Linked DNA regions of Homo sapiens: all the other regions are linked to region 2. Evidence: promoter capture Hi-C in 16 types of primary human blood cells and fetal thymus (Javierre and others, 2016). All regions are on one chromosome and are shown on one strand. Each heading gives the region's core, a stretch centred on a gene start or on the middle of the fragment in contact. The rest is flanking DNA. Distances are from core to core; before and after follow the strand shown. Region 1 overlaps HTT (huntingtin). Region 2 holds the start of DOK7 (docking protein 7). Region 3 overlaps MSANTD1 (Myb/SANT DNA binding domain containing 1). Region 4 overlaps HTT (huntingtin).

Region 1 (4,830 bases), core at 2,331-4,830, 220 kb before region 2:
ATGCTGGCTGCCAGGAGTTTCCCTTTCCACAGCCCTTCCCCAAGACAGACCACAAGAGCCTCCAAGCAGCACAGTTGTCCTGGTGCTGACAGCACAGCCTTGCCCGGCGTGCCTGGCACGGCTCTGCCCTCACTGCATTGGAGCAGGGCTAGTGGAGGCCAGCGGAAGCACCGGCCACCAGCGCTGCACAGGAGCCAGGCCAGGTGAGTGCTGCCGAGTGGGTGCCCTGCCTGCAGGGCATCCAGCCAGCCAAGGGTTGCAGGAATGGAGGTGGAGGCGCTGATGCAGCTGGAGGCATCCAGGTGGCCCTTCCGGGGCTCTGCTCGCTCTCCAGGCTCCCTGGACCCCTTTGTAGACTGTTTCAGGAGAGGAACTCCCAGGTGAGGACAGGGAGGCAGCATTCCCCTCATTTGCCGGCCTTTTTCCTTAACTCCTGCACCAGCCTCCCACATGTCATCAGCAGGATGGGCAAGCTGGAGCAGGTGGACGTGAACCTTTTCTGCCTGGTCGCCACAGACTTCTACAGACACCAGATAGAGGAGGAGCTCGACCGCAGGGCCTTCCAGTCTGTGCTTGAGGTGGTTGCAGCCCCAGGAAGCCCATATCACCGGCTGCTGACTTGTTTACGAAATGTCCACAAGGTCACCACCTGCTGAGCGCCATGGTGGGAGAGACTGTGAGGCGGCAGCTGGGGCCGGAGCCTTTGGAAGTCTGCGCCCTTGTGCCCTGCCTCCACCGAGCCAGCTTGGTCCCTATGGGCTTCCGCACATGCCGCGGGCGGCCAGGCAACGTGCGTGTCTCTGCCATGTGGCAGAAGTGCTCTTTGTGGCAGTGGCCAGGCAGGGAGTGTCTGCAGTCCTGGTGGGGCTGAGCCTGAGGCCTTCCAGAAAGCAGGAGCAGCTGTGCTGCACCCCATGTGGGTGACCAGGTCCTTTCTCCTGATAGTCACCTGCTGGTTGTTGCCAGGTTGCAGCTGCTCTTGCATCTGGGCCAGAAGTCCTCCCTCCTGCAGGCTGGCTGTTGGCCCCTCTGCTGTCCTGCAGTAGAAGGTGCCGTGAGCAGGCTTTGGGAACACTGGCCTGGGTCTCCCTGGTGGGGTGTGCATGCCACGCCCCGTGTCTGGATGCACAGATGCCATGGCCTGTGCTGGGCCAGTGGCTGGGGGTGCTAGACACCCGGCACCATTCTCCCTTCTCTCTTTTCTTCTCAGGATTTAAAATTTAATTATATCAGTAAAGAGATTAATTTTAACGTAACTCTTTCTATGCCCGTGTAAAGTATGTGAATCGCAAGGCCTGTGCTGCATGCGACAGCGTCCGGGGTGGTGGACAGGGCCCCCGGCCACGCTCCCTCTCCTGTAGCCACTGGCATAGCCCTCCTGAGCACCCGCTGACATTTCCGTTGTACATGTTCCTGTTTATGCATTCACAAGGTGACTGGGATGTAGAGAGGCGTTAGTGGGCAGGTGGCCACAGCAGGACTGAGGACAGGCCCCCATTATCCTAGGGGTGCGCTCACCTGCAGCCCCTCCTCCTCGGGCACAGACGACTGTCGTTCTCCACCCACCAGTCAGGGACAGCAGCCTCCCTGTCACTCAGCTGAGAAGGCCAGCCCTCCCTGGCTGTGAGCAGCCTCCACTGTGTCCAGAGACATGGGCCTCCCACTCCTGTTCCTTGCTAGCCCTGGGGTGGCGTCTGCCTAGGAGCTGGCTGGCAGGTGTTGGGACCTGCTGCTCCATGGATGCATGCCCTAAGAGTGTCACTGAGCTGTGTTTTGTCTGAGCCTCTCTCGGTCAACAGCAAAGCTTGGTGTCTTGGCACTGTTAGTGACAGAGCCCAGCATCCCTTCTGCCCCCGTTCCAGCTGACATCTTGCACGGTGACCCCTTTTAGTCAGGAGAGTGCAGATCTGTGCTCATCGGAGACTGCCCCACGGCCCTGTCAGAGCCGCCACTCCTATCCCCAGGCCAGGTCCCTGGACCAGCCTCCTGTTTGCAGGCCCAGAGGAGCCAAGTCATTAAAATGGAAGTGGATTCTGGATGGCCGGGCTGCTGCTGATGTAGGAGCTGGATTTGGGAGCTCTGCTTGCCGACTGGCTGTGAGACGAGGCAGGGGCTCTGCTTCCTCAGCCCTAGAGGCGAGCCAGGCAAGGTTGGCGACTGTCATGTGGCTTGGTTTGGTCATGCCCGTCGATGTTTTGGGTATTGAATGTGGTAAGTGGAGGAAATGTTGGAACTCTGTGCAGGTGCTGCCTTGAGACCCCCAAGCTTCCACCTGTCCCTCTCCTATGTGGCAGCTGGGGAGCAGCTGAGATGTGGACTTGTATGCTGCCCACATACGTGAGGGGGAGCTGAAAGGGAGCCCCTCCTCTGAGCAGCCTCTGCCAGGCCTGTATGAGGCTTTTCCCACCAGCTCCCAACAGAGGCCTCCCCCAGCCAGGACCACCTCGTCCTCGTGGCGGGGCAGCAGGAGCGGTAGAAAGGGGTCCGATGTTTGAGGAGGCCCTTAAGGGAAGCTACTGAATTATAACACGTAAGAAAATCACCATTCCGTATTGGTTGGGGGCTCCTGTTTCTCATCCTAGCTTTTTCCTGGAAAGCCCGCTAGAAGGTTTGGGAACGAGGGGAAAGTTCTCAGAACTGTTGGCTGCTCCCCACCCGCCTCCCGCCTCCCCCGCAGGTTATGTCAGCAGCTCTGAGACAGCAGTATCACAGGCCAGATGTTGTTCCTGGCTAGATGTTTACATTTGTAAGAAATAACACTGTGAATGTAAAACAGAGCCATTCCCTTGGAATGCATATCGCTGGGCTCAACATAGAGTTTGTCTTCCTCTTGTTTACGACGTGATCTAAACCAGTCCTTAGCAAGGGGCTCAGAACACCCCGCTCTGGCAGTAGGTGTCCCCCACCCCCAAAGACCTGCCTGTGTGCTCCGGAGATGAATATGAGCTCATTAGTAAAAATGACTTCACCCACGCATATACATAAAGTATCCATGCATGTGCATATAGACACATCTATAATTTTACACACACACCTCTCAAGACGGAGATGCATGGCCTCTAAGAGTGCCCGTGTCGGTTCTTCCTGGAAGTTGACTTTCCTTAGACCCGCCAGGTCAAGTTAGCCGCGTGACGGACATCCAGGCGTGGGACGTGGTCAGGGCAGGGCTCATTCATTGCCCACTAGGATCCCACTGGCGAAGATGGTCTCCATATCAGCTCTCTGCAGAAGGGAGGAAGACTTTATCATGTTCCTAAAAATCTGTGGCAAGCACCCATCGTATTATCCAAATTTTGTTGCAAATGTGATTAATTTGGTTGTCAAGTTTTGGGGGTGGGCTGTGGGGAGATTGCTTTTGTTTTCCTGCTGGTAATATCGGGAAAGATTTTAATGAAACCAGGGTAGAATTGTTTGGCAATGCACTGAAGCGTGTTTCTTTCCCAAAATGTGCCTCCCTTCCGCTGCGGGCCCAGCTGAGTCTATGTAGGTGATGTTTCCAGCTGCCAAGTGCTCTTTGTTACTGTCCACCCTCATTTCTGCCAGCGCATGTGTCCTTTCAAGGGGAAAATGTGAAGCTGAACCCCCTCCAGACACCCAGAATGTAGCATCTGAGAAGGCCCTGTGCCCTAAAGGACACCCCTCGCCCCCATCTTCATGGAGGGGGTCATTTCAGAGCCCTCGGAGCCAATGAACAGCTCCTCCTCTTGGAGCTGAGATGAGCCCCACGTGGAGCTCGGGACGGATAGTAGACAGCAATAACTCGGTGTGTGGCCGCCTGGCAGGTGGAACTTCCTCCCGTTGCGGGGTGGAGTGAGGTTAGTTCTGTGTGTCTGGTGGGTGGAGTCAGGCTTCTCTTGCTACCTGTGAGCATCCTTCCCAGCAGACATCCTCATCGGGCTTTGTCCCTCCCCCGCTTCCTCCCTCTGCGGGGAGGACCCGGGACCACAGCTGCTGGCCAGGGTAGACTTGGAGCTGTCCTCCAGAGGGGTCACGTGTAGGAGTGAGAAGAAGGAAGATCTTGAGAGCTGCTGAGGGACCTTGGAGAGCTCAGGATGGCTCAGACGAGGACACTCGCTTGCCGGGCCTGGGCCTCCTGGGAAGGAGGGAGCTGCTCAGAATGCCGCATGACAACTGAAGGCAACCTGGAAGGTTCAGGGGCCGCTCTTCCCCCATGTGCCTGTCACGCTCTGGTGCAGTCAAAGGAACGCCTTCCCCTCAGTTGTTTCTAAGAGCAGAGTCTCCCGCTGCAATCTGGGTGGTAACTGCCAGCCTTGGAGGATCGTGGCCAACGTGGACCTGCCTACGGAGGGTGGGCTCTGACCCAAGTGGGGCCTCCTTGTCCAGGTCTCACTGCTTTGCACCGTGGTCAGAGGGACTGTCAGCTGAGCTTGAGCTCCCCTGGAGCCAGCAGGGCTGTGATGGGCGAGTCCCGGAGCCCCACCCAGACCTGAATGCTTCTGAGAGCAAAGGGAAGGACTGACGAGAGATGTATATTTAATTTTTTAACTGCTGCAAACATTGTACATCCAAATTAAAGGAAAAAAATGGAAACCATCAGTTGTTGCTGTGTGAGGCTTGCTTTGCTTCATGAGAACCTAGACCTTGCTGAGCTGGAGTCTTAGGAAGCAGTCTCCTAAGTGCTTCTCCAGCAGGGGCAGAAACTGTCCCACCAGCTAACATCTGGCATTATGGAGGGTCCCCCAGGCAGCTGCCAGCAGGGACAGGCCCCGTGTTTTCTGTAGCCAGGGATGAGGAAGTGGCCCCAGGGCATGGGCCTGGCTGGGTGCTTCTGCAAGGGCCTTCCCAAACCACAGTACAGGTGGTCTTCCT
Region 2 (4,841 bases), core at 342-2,841:
GTAGGGATAAGCAAGTGCCAGGCGCCCAGGGCAGCGGATGTGTCTGTGGCTACAGCCCCAACGGCCCCCGCCTCCGCACCGGCTGTCCTGGGCCAGCCCCTTGGGGGCCTGGGATGTGTGGGGAGCATGAATGGGGCTCTGTGACCCAGCAACTGTTCTGCGGAAGGCGGCTGGTGGCTGCACAGGTGACTGCGGGGGTGGGTGGGGGATGCAAAATTCTGCTTCCTGGGCCTGGTGTCCCCCGCCTTGCATGAGGCCCTGACAAGACATCACCGAAGCACCAAAGCCAACCCTTGTGGCCCACCGGAGACCTGTCTCTTGGATCACAGGGGCAGTGGGGAGGGGCGCCCAGGGCTCCCGATGCCTCTGAGCCCTGCTCTGAGGTCAGCCGATGTGGCTCAGTCCTGGCTGTGAGGCCTCACGCTGCCCTGATTCCATTTGCTCCTCAGTGCGAGGCAGACAGAGCCCAGCCTAGGGTCTGGATGGGATGAAATGAAGACGTCTCCTCCCTAACGGGACACTGTCTACCCCTTCCTTCTTCTCCCCCGAGAACCGTCAGCCCCGTGAGGATGGGGTCTAGGGTAGGGCATGTGGACGGAGCTTTGCTGTTTGTCCAGGTGCTTATCTTCTAGGGTGCCATCGCCCCTCCCCACTGCTGTTCCCGTATCTGCTGGGTGTCCCCAACCCCAGGGTGGTGGAGGCCGTCTCTCGGATGGGGCTGACACCCAAGGCACGGACCTGCCAGGTCCCCCAAAGCACATGGCCTCTCTGCAGAAGAACCTGGATGTGACATCTAATGCCCAGGCCAGAGCTTGGGGACAGCTGGACTGGAGCCACAGGGTCAAGGAGGGGGAGTCCAGAAGCGCAAAGTCCACCCAGCTGGGAGGGCTGCTGGCAGGTCCTTTACAAAGCAGGCAGCTCCTCTGCCCATCGGAGCCGGCTGGCCTAACCAGGGCCTGCTCTTGCCTGGGATGGGGGCAGAAGAGGTGGAGACCTGGGGCCCTGAGGCGGCACTGTGGGTCCTGGACCCGCCCACCTGCACTGGGGTCCCTGCAGGCTTTTAATGGGAACAGAAATGGAGGAAGAGACAGAGGCTGCCAGGGGCTCCCCGACCCCTACTGCCTGCCTGGGGAGGGGTCACCTCAGTGTGGGGGAAGCCTGGGGATGTGAGAGCATCCTAGGCCTGGGCTGCCTGTGGCCAGTCTGTTGTCCGGGTGTCTAGTGACCCCTGGGGTAGGGGCAGATGCCAGTCTGGGAAGCCGGATTGTTTGAAGACCAACTTTAAAGTTGGGAGCAGTGCCCAGAGCGGGGCCGATGTCTGCTAGGTGGTTGTCTCTGCTTTTTGAAAAAGAAGTCCCCGCCCGACCCCCGCCCCGCCAGGCGCTGGTCTGAGCGTCTGAGCCCAGATGGTGCGCTTGCTCCAGAGGGCGGGCGGCTCCAGTGGCCGCCGCGGGACGGTGGGGCCAGAGGGGCCCGTGGGGGTGGGGGAGCCGCCCGCAGGAGAAGGAGCCCCGCCCGCGCCGGCCCTGGAGTCGCCGGTGTCGCCGCCCTGCCCGCGGGCCCGCCCTCCTGGCCCAGCCCAGGGCCCTGCGAGCTATTTTGAAAGTGACCCTGGGCTGGGGCGCCGGGGCGAGCGCGGCGGCGCGGAACCATGACAGAAGATGACCGAGGCGGCGCTGGTGGAGGGCCAGGTCAAGCTGCGGGACGGCAAGAAGGTCGGGGCGCGTCGGGGGCGCGGGGGGGGGGGGCGCGGGCGCGGGCGGCGGCTCACGCTCCCCCCTGTCCCCGCAGTGGAAGAGTAGGTGGCTGGTGCTGCGGAAGCCGTCGCCCGTGGCAGGTGAGCGGGGCGGGCGGGGGACGGGGGGCGCGGGGGTAGCGACACGGGTTACCGAGGCCCGGGGCAGTAATGCCAGCTTGCCCAAAATCGCCGCCGCTGTCACCCCGCCGGGAAACCCGAGAGCCCCGTGCGGACCCGGACCCCCCGGCGCCCCTGGGAGCGCAGGTGGGGGCCCTGGACGGAAGAACCCTCTTTCCAGCAGGGCAGACTGAGGCCCGAGGGGCTGCCTGGTGGCCCTGTAGGCGGAGGGGACGCAGGCCCTGAGCCCCCCAGCAGAGCAGCAAGGGGCCCCCCAGAAGCAAAGCCCCACATACCTGAGGGTTGAGCTGTGCTTGTGGAAACGCTCAGAGCAGGGCCCCCGAACCCAGCCTCCAGGGGTGCTGCGTGGGTTAGCGCTGACCCTGGACCCCTCCCAGGCAGACGAGAGGCTGGGCTGCGGTAGGGCAGGGCAGAGTGACTGCCACATTGCTGGGGGAACAGTCCTCTGGGAGGAGGCAGGGGTCCCCCCCCAGTCCCCGCCCTGAGCCAGCACCCCAGCTTGGGGAGGGTCAGCATGGAGCCCCCAGGTCTGGCAGCCCAGGCCGCCTGCAGCGCTGGGCCTGTAGGGAGGGCTGAGCCGGGCCTGCAGCTGCTCCAGAGGACAGGTGCGGCAGAGCCGGCCAGGCCCGGGTCTGGGTGGGATGCTCGGCCTGTGTGCATGGGGGGCTGTACGCCAGGGGGCTGCCAGAGCACCCTCCAGGACGGGTGTCTGTGACTCCCAGGGAGGGTGTGGGGCAGGGATCCCTCCTGCGTCCCCTCTGCAGGGCCTCAGGTGGTCCTGGAGGAAAGCACTTCCTGCCTGCCTCCGCCTCCCCTTGCAGGGCCTGGACTGCACGCTGGTCACTTCTCCACTCAGCCCTCCGTGCCCAGACCTCCTGCCTGGAGCTGTGGGGGCACCGACAGAGCCTGGGAGGGCGTCTTTGTCCTCCGGGGCTGCAGGGGACCTGGTATAGGAAGGGATGGGGTCTGGGCAGAGTGAGAGGCCCTGCCAGGCTGGGGCGGATGACAGGCTTTAGTCAGCTGTGGCTGGGTCGGGGCCGTGGTGGGGCAGGTGATGCTTGGTGGATGGTGCTGGGCTGGAGCCGGTGCAGACCCTCCAGAGAGGCCGCATCCCAGGAAGGCACCCGGGACAGCAGCCCCCAAAGAGGAGTGTCGGGGGAGAAGTCTTTGTCCCTGTTGGAGGGATTTTCTTTCTGCATCAGACAGTCCCAGGAGGCAGGGCCTGCCAGCCTCAAGAGGGTGTGCTCCCCCGGCCGGTGAGTGCCTGAGTGGAGTGACAGGAGTTTGCAATGGGTCCCCCAGGTGGGACAATCTGTGAGTCTGTAGGTGAACATGGTGGCTCCCGAGCGTCTGCTGGGTTATCCCGTATCCTGCGCAGTTGAGATCTGCAGCCTTCTGGGGCTGGCGTGGGAGGTGATGTGGGGTAGTAGAAGGTGCCATGCCCCCTCTGGGTGGATGTTCATTCCAAGCCTTGAGGCCAGGTGTCCCTAGCACCCACTGACTCACTGGCCTGGGACCCATTGCTTTGGACACCTGCTTTCTGTGTTGGTCACTCCAGCAGCCCAGGGTTGAAACTGACACCCTGTGGGGTTGCCCAGAGGTCGGTCAGATGAGGGGATGGGACAGAGCGGAGTTCTCACGCCCACCTCCCCACCCTGACCAGGCCAGCCTGGCACCTCCTCTCCGCTCAGAGGCCCTGATGCCTCTTCCCCTGGCCCCTCATAAGCCTCCCTAGATGCTGCCCCCTTTGCCTTCACCCAGCTGCCTTCCCGCTCAGCGCTGGAGACCACCTCCCTTGTGGATGGGCCCGGCGTGGAGGGAGCAGGCCCCAGCCCTGGAGGAGCAGACAGCACAGACCCTGCGCTCCTGGTGTGAGGGAGAGAGGAAGGGTCCCGTCTGCTTCCTTGTAAGACAGGCAGGGTTCTTTTTGTTACCAGTGGTGATTTCCTTCTGGGAAGGGCCCCGATGTGCACCTTTTCCACTGGCACCTTTCTCCTCCTTGCGTTTTTCTCAATCGTGAGCACGTCTTTCTGTTATGACAAGGTTTAGCGAATGAAAGGGAAACCCTTTTATCAAAGGGCTGCTCAGCCACAGCGCCTGGCATGGCCAGTGGACGTCGGGCCGTCTGCCTCGGTGTGGGACTGCAGGGTGCCCTGCAGTGGGACCACGTTCCTCAATGTCTCCACCGCGTCCTCACTGCGGAATGCGTGTCTGCGTCCCCTCTCTGGGCAGGGCCCCGGGGGAGGAGGGTGGTCTGTGTCCAGTTGTGGCCCAGGACTCACTGCTGGTGGCCCTGCATGCCAGCGGCGCCTGGCCCAGCCCCTCTCTTCTTCCTCCCAGGTGCGGGGGCTGGGGGTGGTGAGGAAAGTGTTCTTGACATCCTGTGGAGAGTGTGGCCCCAGGCCAGACACTTGAGGGGGCCTGCTTCCCACAGGGGCTGCCCCTGGGGGCTTCATCCAGCTCAGAAAAGCCACCGGGAGGGCCCGAGTCCTGGAGCTGGCAGGGTCTTGGAGTCACCATGGTGGGGGGAAGCTGAAACTCAGAAACCCGAGGGATCTGGCCCAAGACATGGACTGCTGGGCAGAGCCCAGTTCCCCCCAGCCAGCCCAAACCTTGCCCCCCACAGCTGGCTGGAAGTTCCGCGCCTGCCCCCGGGCTGATGGCTGGGCCCTTGCTTAGTCTCCCCTATCCTTGCTCTCGGTGGGACTGAGCCCGGCCTGCAGGAGGGACCCCACGGAGACGGCGCAGGAGCCGGGAGCCCCCTGGCAGGTGCCCCGTGAGCCCCGGAGCTGCCCCACGGCTAGTGCTGTCCTGGGGCCCTGCCCTCCACAGCGCCTCCGCTAACGAGGGGCTGGGGGTGGACACTGGGTCGGCCCTTCCTGAGCAGAGCCTCCTGGTGGTGGATTTCCTGTGCGTCTGGCTCCTGCCCCAACGGACTGGGGCTGACATCCCAGCTCCGGGCTGA
Region 3 (5,024 bases), core at 1,851-4,350, 200 kb before region 2:
GTCCAGCGTCTAGGCCAGCAGGCGGCGGCGGCGGCGGGGCCGGGCGGCTGGTGGTACTGCTCAGGCCACCCAGGGCAGGCCACTCAGGCCAGGCGGGCAAGGGGGCCGCCCCGCGAGCGGAGACCGCCTTCCACCTGGCCTCTGGCAGGATGTCCCTTCTGAGGGGTATTTTGAGGAACCCCCAGGCCCTGGGGACCGTGAGGCTCCAGTCTCCAGCATGAATGCCCTTCCTCGGACACAGGCCAGGGCCTCTGGGGTTCACTCCGAGTAAGAACGTCCTAGAGCCACTCTCCAGTGTCGTTACTATCAATGATACTTGACGTGGCTTTGATATTAAACGTATACTTTTTCATTCTTGCCTGGAACGCACAGTTTGCTGTTGCTGGCTTGGTGAGGATGCCCTGATTGATGGATCCCGAAAATGAAAGCAGATGGAAACGGGTTGGGGCAGGCTGGAGCTGGGGGAGCTCTCTCCTGAAGGGAACCCTGTGTCCTCCCTCACCAGGACCTCTGCGTCTCTCCTTAAATGGCCTCTGACGCCTGATGAAAACCCCAGCGACCTTCCAGGAGGCTTTTATTCAGCTCTGTTTGGAGCATCAGGTGTTTCCACTGCCTCCTTAGCAATGACACTAATAAAAGTCGTAACACCTGTTCACATGCACAGCCCTGTTGAGTGTTCTGGGTGCTGGAGATATCATGGTGGATGACACAAAGGCCCTGGCCTCTTGGAGCTTATGCTCCCATGCGGGGAAGACACATGGGTCAGTAGAGAAATGGTTGCAGGTTGTGATAAGTGCTGGAAGGGAGGGGTTGGCCTGAGGACACGGAGGCAGACATACGTGGAGCTGGGAACAGTGGCCACACAGGGAACGGCCAGTGCGAAGGCCCAGAGGCAGAGGACACTGGAGCAAGCCCAGGAGCAGCTAGGAGGCTGGTGGCCAGCAGCCAGGCCACGGAAGCCCGTGCAGCCCGTGGGGAGGAGTGTTCATGCTTTTCAAGCTTAGTGGGAGTCTTTTGGCCAGTGCAGCTCTGGGTCTGACATCGGTGGGGGACAGAGGGGTGGTGGAGCGGCCACAGCTGCAAGCTCACCTCACTGCCGGCCCTTCCACCAGTTTCAAACTCTTTCTAGAAGCTCCAGCTTTCCCAAAGCTGAATTCTCTATGAGCCTCCTTGGCCGGGACTCGGGCGTCTGGTTGCCCTGGCTGCAAAGGAGGCTGGGGCCAGGTGTGTTTGAGTCACCTCCTGGAATTAGGCAAGTTGCTGCCCAAATAGAAGGTTGTTGGCAGGTGGGTCAGCAGGTGAACAGCATGGTTTGACTCAGGGTTCAGAAAAATCTCCCTCTGGCTGCCAAGCGAGCAGGCCGTGGAGACAGGTGCAGAGGCAGGTGTGGCAGCAGGCATCCTGCCAGGCAGTGCTGCAGTCATCCTGCGACAAGCAGCAGCAGCTCATCCTACCCTCTAGGGGGTCTTGAGGTCAGCCAGGCAAGAGAGCAGCTTGGACTCCACTGGGTGTGGGACCAGCCTGTGGACCATGGTGGTGTGGAGGGTGCCCTCGGCCTGCCTGTGTGAAGGAGAGGCCGGCGTGTTCTGTGGAGCCCAAAGGGGAGCTGGGCAAGCAGGATTCACTTCACTCTGAGGGTCCTGGAGCTCCCACCCTCCTCAGCCATCTCCCCAGAGCCTGTGTGCCGAGGACTCGGCCCATGTTGCTGTGGGATGAGAGGCAGAGTGTCGTGAGGGTGTAAGGAGCGGCGGCAGTGGTGGGAGGAGGGAGCAGCAGCCAGCGCTACGGTGCCAGTTTCCAGCTGCCAGATGACGCCGCTGACCCTGTGGTTGAGAAGAGATGCACAGAGCCAGCTCTTGCAAGCCAGTGTGGCTGCCATAGCACCTGCCGAGAAGCAGAAGGAAGGGTGGCCCCAGGAGGACAGAGGATGCGGGCACATCTGATGCGGGCCTGAGTTTTGGGAGCTTTTGCTCTAGCCAGTTTCCAGCTCCGGGACCCACCCGCCTCGTAGGCAAGACACCACCCAAGAAATCATTTGCTTAACAAACACACTGGGCTCCAACTGGACACCTGTGCCACCCTAGATGCTGGGAACCCAGCCATGACACAGGCACCTGCCCCCAGCTGCTGACCACTGAGGCTGGCTAGCAGCTCCCATGGGGCCAGTGTGGGGTTCCCCAGCCTCCTAACAGGGAGCCAGTCACAAGCCCTCGAGAGGGAAGGGTGCCCGCGGCCCTGGCAGGAAGGTTAGGCTGGACGCTCCCACAAGACATAACAGATGGAGGTTCTAAATGATGTAGCAACTTCTTCACCCTGAAACTGCTGTAGAGTCAGCCATGACGCACCGGTACTTCAGTAACTGCCAGGCATCCGGGACAGCACACCGCGAGTCGCTGCTGTGCTTGGGTTAGAAGTGGTTTGGTCTGTTTTCTTCTCGCCCTCTCTAATCAGAGTCAGTGATTCATGCCCTTCCATCACCTTAGAGAAGGGGCAGGCGCTGCCCGACCTTCTCCAGGCTGGAGCAGCATCGCCTCATGTCAGCAGAACTCAGCTGTAGAATATCGTGGGGTTGGTGCCTTTCATCAGCAGCATGTCCTTAACAACTTTCTGATTTCTTCCTTAGTTGTTGGTCCATTAAGGAGAAAAAAAATGATCTCAGCCATTGCTAAAATATTTGATAAGATTCAGCAAAGCAGCATGTTAACATTGAAAACTAGAATCAGGAGCCAGGCAGATGTGCTTGCTTTTCACCTGTAGTATTTCATGTTGTTTTGACGTTTTTAGCTAATGCATTAAGATAAATAAACAAAAGCCGGGCACGGTGGTTCACGCCTGTAATCCCAGCACTTTGGGAGGCTGAGGCGGGAGGATCCTCTGAGGTCAGGAGTTCAAGACCAGCCTGACCAACATGGAGAAACCTCGTCATTACTAAAAATACAAAATTAGCTGGGCGTGGTGGTGCATGCCTGTAATCCCAGCTACTTGGGAGGCTGAGGCAGGAGAATCGCTTGAACCCGGGAGGCGGAGGTTGCAGTGAGCTGAGATTGCACCACTGCACTCCAGCCTGGGTGACAGTGAAACTCGGTCTCAAAAAAAAAAAAAAATTAAAAAAAGATAAATAAAATAAGCAGGATAAGAAATGAAGAAAGTAGAGTTACCTTTGTTTTCAGATTTCATTTTTGTATACCCAGAAAGCCAAATGTACAAAAGACTGGGAGCTCTTTAAACCAGCTTAAACTTGTTGAAAATGAGGATGAAGAAATATCCCATTCAGAGTTGGAATGAATTTAACCCAGAAGGAACAGGACCTCTACTGAAGAGAACTATGCAGTCTTACTGAAAAATCTAAATAATACCTGAGCGCTGGAGAAACTTCGCACACTCCTGAAAGCTCCAAAGTCAATGTCATCATTTTATTAATGTCATTCCAAACATAGTCTCAATAATATCACTTCTTGGTTTTGACATGGACGCGATGATGTTTAAATTCATATGAAAAAAGAACGGGGCCAAAAGTCCAAGGCCAGTCAGCGTGAGAAGACCGCTCGGCCTCCCTCGGAGTCGGGGAGTTGGAACCGCAGACTGAGATCATGTGGCTGCTGGAGGCCAGGACGAACGTCGGGAAATGGAGACTCCTGCGTTGCTGGTGGGATGTGGTGCAGCCGCTTCCAGGAGCAATTTGGTGTCCCGTCCTAAAGCTGAAGAAACGCATTTCCTCTGGTCAGTGCCACTCCTAGACAGGCCACCCTGCGGCAGCCGTCCTCAAACTGGTCTGAGGACCCCTCAACGCTCTTAAAAATCATTAAAAGTGGGCCAGGTGCGGTGGCTCACACCTGTAATCCCAGCACTTTGGGAGGCCAAGACAGGCGGATCACGAGGTCAGGACATTGAGATCATCCTGGCTAACACGGTGAAACCCCGTCTCTACTAAAAATACAAAAAATTAGCCGGGCGTGGTGGCGGGCGCCTGTAGTCCCAGCTACTTGGGAGGCTGAGCCAGGAGAATGGCGTGAACCCAGGAGGTGGAGCTTGCAGTGAGCTGAGATCACTCCACTGCACTCCAGCCTGGGCAGCAGAGCGAGACTCTGTCTCAAAAAAAAATAATAAATAAATAAATAAAAATAAAATAAAATAAAATTCATTAAAAGTGCCAAAGAACTTTTGCTTATGTGAGTTCTAATGACCAATATTAATACACATTAGAATATCTTATTAGAAATTAAACCTGAGACCTTTAGAAAACATGTATTCATTTCAAAATAGCAATAAACCCATGACATATTAACATAAATAACAATTGTATGAAAAATATATTTTCCAAAACAAAAAGTTTTCGGGAGAAGTGTGGCATAGTTTTACATGGTCGTAAATCTCTGGCTTAAGAGAAGCCCACTGGCCTCTCAGCAGGCTCTGGGTCCGTCCACTTTGGGGGTGTTTTGGTTGTGAAGTATAGGAGTGAATGGAGAAGCTCATTCTTACCCAGATGTGTATTTGAAAAGAAAAGGAACATTTTAATAACCTTTGCAAATAATCGGTATATTCTTCCGTGATCCTATTCCAACACTGGACAGGTGGTGGTTTGTTTTTTTTTTTTGGAGACGGAGTCCCGCTCTGTCACTCAGGCTGGAGTGCAGTGGCGCGATTTCAGCTCACTGCAAGCTCCGCCTCCTGGGTTCACTGCAAGCTCTGCCTCCCGGGTTCACGCCATTCTCCTGCCTCAGCCTCCTGAGTAGCTGGGACTACAGGCGCCCGCCACCACACCTGGCTAATTTTTTGTATTTTTAGTAGAGATGGGGTTTCACTGTGTTAGCCAGGATGGTCTCAATCTCCTGACATCGTGATCCACCCGCCTCGGCCTCCCAAAGTGCTGGAATTACAGGTGTTAGCCCGGCCGACAGGTGGTGGTTTTTTACTGGCCGGTTGTGTGTGGAATCTGATACCCTATCAATGAACTTCTACTTCATTTCAGGAGAATCCATTGGTCCGTCTTGTGCTTCAAGGACTCTGTCCATCATGCCTTTGTG
Region 4 (5,317 bases), core at 2,818-5,317, 250 kb before region 2:
TGGGAGGCACAGGGCGCTGAGTGCCTCTGTCACCTGTGGCAGATACAGAGAGTGCAGAGGAGGTGCCGTGGACCCAAGGAGTTCTGGCGCTCGGCTCGGCTCAGTGAAGCTGTGGTTAGAGACGTGGGGGGCCATCAAGGTCTGAGGGAGCCAAGCAGTGCTGATGTGGGACCCTTTTGGTAGGAGTGTGGGGTGAGTAGTTAGTGGGTGAATCAAGGAATAGTCGGCCGTGGCCTGCAGGCCCCTGACTGCACAGGCCTTCAAGCACATGTCAATGCCGTTAGCCTCCCTCCATCTCCTCATACCTTCTGGCCACCTGTGAGTTGCACTGCCACTGCCAGCCATTCTGGTATGTTGTCAGCACCTCCACTGCTCATACCTCATGGTTAGGGACCACCTGGAGCCTTGGTAGAGCCTTGGTAGAGCCTTGGTACTCTACTTTCCTGGACAAAGTTCAGCTTATGAATATGAATTTAGATTTCAAAAACCAGCAGCCCAAGTATAAGAAAGCGAAGGTTCAGTCCTGCCTTCTTAGGCTCTATTCGCTAAGCACCTGCCCTGCCCTGGTTGCTGGGGAGAGATGAGTAAAGCAGACAACCCAGGAGAGGATGGCAAAGGGGCCGCTAACCCTTAGTGGTTTAGCTATATTTGGAAGGCCTATTGGAAGTTCACCAGGTGAAGGGGGAGGCTGTGAGGGTGCCCAGGCAGGTAACAGAAGTCCAAAGGGGAAAACCTGTGGTGTGGTGAGCCGTATAGCCACAGCCTGCCGGCCGGCAGCCCTCTCAGCCTAGTGCGGTGTTCCCAAGCACTGGCCTAGGCCTGTAGCTCCAGGGATGTGAAGTCCCCTTGAACGCCGCCCATCATGTTCCCCTTATCCATTTTTTTCTTCCCAGGACTGGTACGTTCATCTTGTCAAATCCCAGTGTTGGACCAGGTCAGATTCTGCACTGCTGGAAGGTGCAGAGCTGGTGAATCGGATTCCTGCTGAAGATATGAATGCCTTCATGATGAACTCGGTACGGGGGGAGCAGTGGAGGCAAGGAATCCTCAGCTTTTCTTGTGACTTCCAAGTGGGATTTGTCTCATCATCATGTGACCCACTTGTTGACAACACATGTTGGGGACTCCAGTCTGGGCAGGGACGGGATGTCGGAGAGACTCCACTCTGAATGGGGCCGGGAAGTGGGGAGGACTCCATTTCAGATGGGGTCGGGACATGGGGGTTATGCTGATCGAGACAGAAAAGCACATTGTTTCAGCCACATTAGAATCCACGGAGGTGTTGTTTTGAAATCCAGCTGGCCCCAAGGCTGGGTGTATGGTTTGGGATGAGAACTATCTGGCCTCCACTGGAGGAACAAACACAGGATGTTATCATCTAAGCTCCATGGCCAAGACAGAATGGAAGTCAAGGTTGCGTATTTGCCGTAGACTTCAACACAGTGTCGTAATGCGTGACGTCAATAACTTGTTTCTAGTGTCTTGGAAGTTGATCTTTAGTCGTAAAAGAGACCCTTGGATGCAGCGAGATTTCCTCTACTCACACCTCTGTTAGATGTAGTGAGGTTCTTCACCCCCCAACCCCAGATGTCAGAGGGCACCCTGCGCAGAGCTAGGAGGCCATGCAAAGCCTTGGTGTCCCTGTCCCTCACCCGTGGGCAGGTCCTGTGAGCAGTGGGGGGGCCACCTCTTGGGTATGGTGCAGCCATGGCCCAAGCAGGGCTTCTTCTCAGACCTACTAGGACGGGAGAAACCTCCTGGTGCTTTAGCCCTGCGTTGATATGCAGCAAATGGGAGGGAAGTGGGCACCTGGGAGGACAAATGCCTGTAGAGGCCGGGAGTGACGGCAGGTGTTCATGAAAAGAGACCTTGTGGGGAGGGCAACACAACAGTGTGTTCTGATGTACTGAAGAGCTCAACTGAAAACAACAGGAGAATTAGCCCAAAATCCATTTACTAAAATTGTTTATCTTTTTTTTTTTTTTTGAGACAAAGTCTCGCTGTTGTCCCCCAGGCTGGAGTGCAATGGCGCTATCTTGGCTCACTGCAACCTCCGCCTCCTGGGTTCATACGATTCTCCTGCCTCAGCCTCCCAAATAGCTGGTATTAACAGGCATGCACCACCACGCCCGGCTAATTTTTGTATTTTTAGTAGAGACGGGATTTCACCATGTTGGCCAGGCTGGTCTCAAACTCCTGACCTCAGGTGATCCGCCCACCTCGGCCTCCCAAAGTGCTGGGATTATAGGCCTGAGCCACCACGCCCGGCCTAAAATTGTTTATCTTAAGATTCATGCAGTGAAAGCTAACTTACTGAGTGATAAATTTGCTTAGTGATCTGTTTATTAGGTTTTCCAAATTTGCTAATTGGGCTTTGAACAGCTGTAAAAGTTCTGACTGTAAAAGAAAGCTTCAACTTTTGGCATTCATGATGCTTTTCTGAGTATTAAACTAAGATAGATGTTTTACCTGAAGGATCGGCCACCAATCTTTAAATGGCTAAACAAAAGGGTTGCTAAAACATAATCCAAATTGACATAAGAAATACCATTTTTCCAACCAAAATTTTGGCATTCATATGGCTACTTTTACGTATTTCAGCTGCATTTGAACATCTTTTTCAAACTTTAGGGTGGTTGGTGTATCACTGAGGTCTTGGATGACACTTTAGCTTTGATTTTGTTTTTATGAATTAAAATTGTCATACCAAAATTTTTATTTCAAGCAAATCCAAGAGCATAAAAAATTAAAATATTACTTAAAATACTAAGAGAGAACAGATATATATTTTACTAAGCATATGTTGAATGAAATTGTTCAAATATTTATAACAGGCATAGAGTAGAATTTTCTTAAAAATATTTTTGATGGTATACCAATTTGTATTTTCTCAGAAACATTTGCCTTATTCTTTTTTCTGTTGTGTTTTTCTTACCTGATTGAAAGCTCATAATCTGTTGTTATTGTTTGTTAACCTTTAATGCTCTGATTTCAGGAGTTCAACCTAAGCCTGCTAGCTCCATGCTTAAGCCTAGGGATGAGTGAAATTTCTGGTGGCCAGAAGAGTGCCCTTTTTGAAGCAGCCCGTGAGGTGACTCTGGCCCGTGTGAGCGGCACCGTGCAGCAGCTCCCTGCTGTCCATCATGTCTTCCAGCCCGAGCTGCCTGCAGAGCCGGCGGCCTACTGGAGCAAGTTGAATGATCTGTTTGGTAATTAAAATTAAAATTTATCTTATTTTTAAAAAGCATTCCAGGGCCAGTATAGTACTTTGCACCAAGTAAATGTACAATAAAGGCAGTGGATCTAATACATTGAAAGCGTTTACAGAGGTAGCTAAAGAGCAGCACGGGTGTCCTCGGCTCAGAATTTCTTCCTGTGTGTTTGCCACTTTGCCATTCATTGACATGGTCATGGACATAGGGCTCTAAGCCCTTGAGGAAGGCTGGGCCAGACCTCAGGGGAGATGCAGCCCCAAACCACGTGCAGTCCTGTGGACGGATGTGTAGATGTGCCACTGAGGAACAATGTCTTGAGCTTTCATCAGATTCTCAGAGAATTGCTTGACTGCCTTTCGAAGTTGATGCATCTGTGCTCACGTTTGCACCCACCCACGAGGTCCTTCTGTTTCAGGGGATGCTGCACTGTATCAGTCCCTGCCCACTCTGGCCCGGGCCCTGGCACAGTACCTGGTGGTGGTCTCCAAACTGCCCAGTCATTTGCACCTTCCTCCTGAGAAAGAGAAGGACATTGTGAAATTCGTGGTGGCAACCCTTGAGGTAAGAGGCAGCTCGGGAGCTCAGTGTTGCTGTGGGGAGGGGGCATGGGGCTGACACTGAAGAGGGTAAAGCAGTTTTATTTGAAAAGCAAGATCTCTGACCAGTCCAGTCACTTTTCCATCTCAGCCTGGCAGTAAGTCTTGTCACCGTCAAGTTATTGTAGCCATCCTTCACCCTCACCTCGCCACTCCTCATGGTGGCCTGTGAGGTCAGCCAGGTCCCCTTCTCATCTGCACCTACCATGTTAGGTGGATCCTAATTTTAGAGACATGAAAAATAATCATCTGGAAGTACTTTATGTCTTAAGTTGGCCTGGACATGTCAGCCAAGGAATACTTACTTGGTTTGTGTTAGTGCTTGTAATTCGCCCCCAGAATGTGTACACGTTCTGGATGCATTAAAGTCTGGCCTGTATCCTTAAAGGGCCATCGCTGTGCTGCCTGCCCTCAGCAAGGACACACTTTGCAGACCCACAGAGGCTCCGCCTCCACCTCACACCAAAGAAAGGGAGGAGTCCAAAGGGCATCAGTGCCATTACTCACAAAATGATAAATACACCCTTATTCTGAACCACGTGGAGTCATATGGTTTGTGATCCCTGTCCTTCAGGTTTCAGCTTAGTGGGGAAGTGGGAAAGTCAGCGTGTGATCACAGCACAGGGTGATTGCTGCTGATTATATTATGTGCCTGCTGTATGCAGGATGAAATACTTTATATGCGTCATCTTATTTGACTCTCACAACCCCCTGTGAGATAGGCTCTGTTACTCCCATTTGACAGGTGAGGAAAGCAAGGCTTAGAGAATTTCAGTGACTTGCCCAGGTCCTCTGAGCTAGGAAGTAGCCATTCTGGCATTTGAACCCAAGGCCTGCTATCCCTAGAACCCACGCTCTCAAATTCAACCTATGACAGAGGCAAGCCCTGGTGCTGTGGGAGCCCCAAGGAAGAGCCTCTGGCCTGGTGGCCACGTAGCCCAGGAGAGATTTCTACAGGAGCCCACAGCGCTGAAGGAGAGAGAGGCAGCAGAGTAAGGGGGCTTTGTGGCAGAGAGGGGACTGGCACTTTGGGGAATAGGTGGGTCAGGACTGAATGTAATGGAGCCATGTCAGAGCTGTCCTTCTGGAAGGGCAAGGGCACCTGGACGCGCTGCCCCTCAGTGCTTTGGACGGTTCCACAACTGTGATTCACACGGCTTCCCCAAACGAAGGTACACGAGTGGGCATTCTGTGACTCGGTACTTCCCTTTAGGCCCTGTCCTGGCATTTGATCCATGAGCAGATCCCGCTGAGTCTGGATCTCCAGGCAGGGCTGGACTGCTGCTGCCTGGCCCTGCAGCTGCCTGGCCTCTGGAGCGTGGTCTCCTCCACAGAGTTTGTGACCCACGCCTGCTCCCTCATCTACTGTGTGCACTTCATCCTGGAGGCCGGTGAGTCCCCGTCCATGAACGGTGGGTTCCTATCATAGTTCCTGTCTGCTTCACCATGTTTTTATTTTGTGCTGCCTGTTTGCCAGGTACTAAGCTAGGAATTGGGGATGGAGAG

Evidence for each region. Contacts are between HindIII fragments. The CHiCAGO score rates a contact against its expected background, and 5 or more counts as called.
Region 1: a contact is called between a fragment that was not itself captured here and the fragment with the promoter of DOK7 in region 2, in 1 of 17 cell types (endothelial precursors). The highest score is 5.1, in endothelial precursors.
Region 3: a fragment that was not itself captured here is called in contact with the fragment with the promoter of DOK7 in region 2 in 1 of 17 cell types (M1 macrophages); the score reaches 5.9 in M1 macrophages.
Region 4: a contact is called between a fragment that was not itself captured here and the fragment with the promoter of DOK7 in region 2, in 3 of 17 cell types (M0 macrophages, endothelial precursors and naive CD8 T cells). The highest score is 7.6, in M0 macrophages.

Annotation. Positions count from the first base shown.
Region 1 is chr4:3,239,404-3,244,233 of GRCh38, forward strand. HTT (huntingtin) reads left to right here. Exons shown (of 67, transcript NM_001388492.1): 67 at 443-4,554. The coding sequence ends at 656. Among named protein-coding and RNA genes, the nearest start is that of MSANTD1, 7.3 kb to the right of the region's middle. The HindIII fragment of the contact is 2,634 bases long and covers 2,264-4,830 here.
Region 2 is chr4:3,461,715-3,466,555 of GRCh38, forward strand. It overlaps DOK7 (docking protein 7), which reads left to right and starts at 1,592. Exons shown (of 7, transcript NM_173660.5): 1 at 1,592-1,715; 2 at 1,792-1,837. The coding sequence starts at 1,662. RefSeq lists enhancers at 370-1,217, 4,135-4,744. The HindIII fragment of the contact is 8,339 bases long and covers 1-4,841 here.
Region 3 is chr4:3,255,953-3,260,976 of GRCh38, forward strand. It overlaps MSANTD1 (Myb/SANT DNA binding domain containing 1), which reads left to right. Exons shown (of 3, transcript NM_001042690.2): 3 at 1-661. The coding sequence ends at 13. Among named protein-coding and RNA genes, the nearest start is that of MSANTD1, 9.3 kb to the left of the region's middle. The HindIII fragment of the contact is 4,206 bases long and covers 998-5,024 here.
Region 4 is chr4:3,208,934-3,214,250 of GRCh38, forward strand. HTT (huntingtin) reads left to right here. Exons shown (of 67, transcript NM_001388492.1): 47 at 894-1,016; 48 at 2,996-3,209; 49 at 3,631-3,776; 50 at 5,025-5,202. Among named protein-coding and RNA genes, the nearest start is that of MSANTD1, 38 kb to the right of the region's middle. RefSeq lists enhancers at 4,518-5,018, 5,019-5,317. The HindIII fragment of the contact is 3,319 bases long and covers 2,409-5,317 here.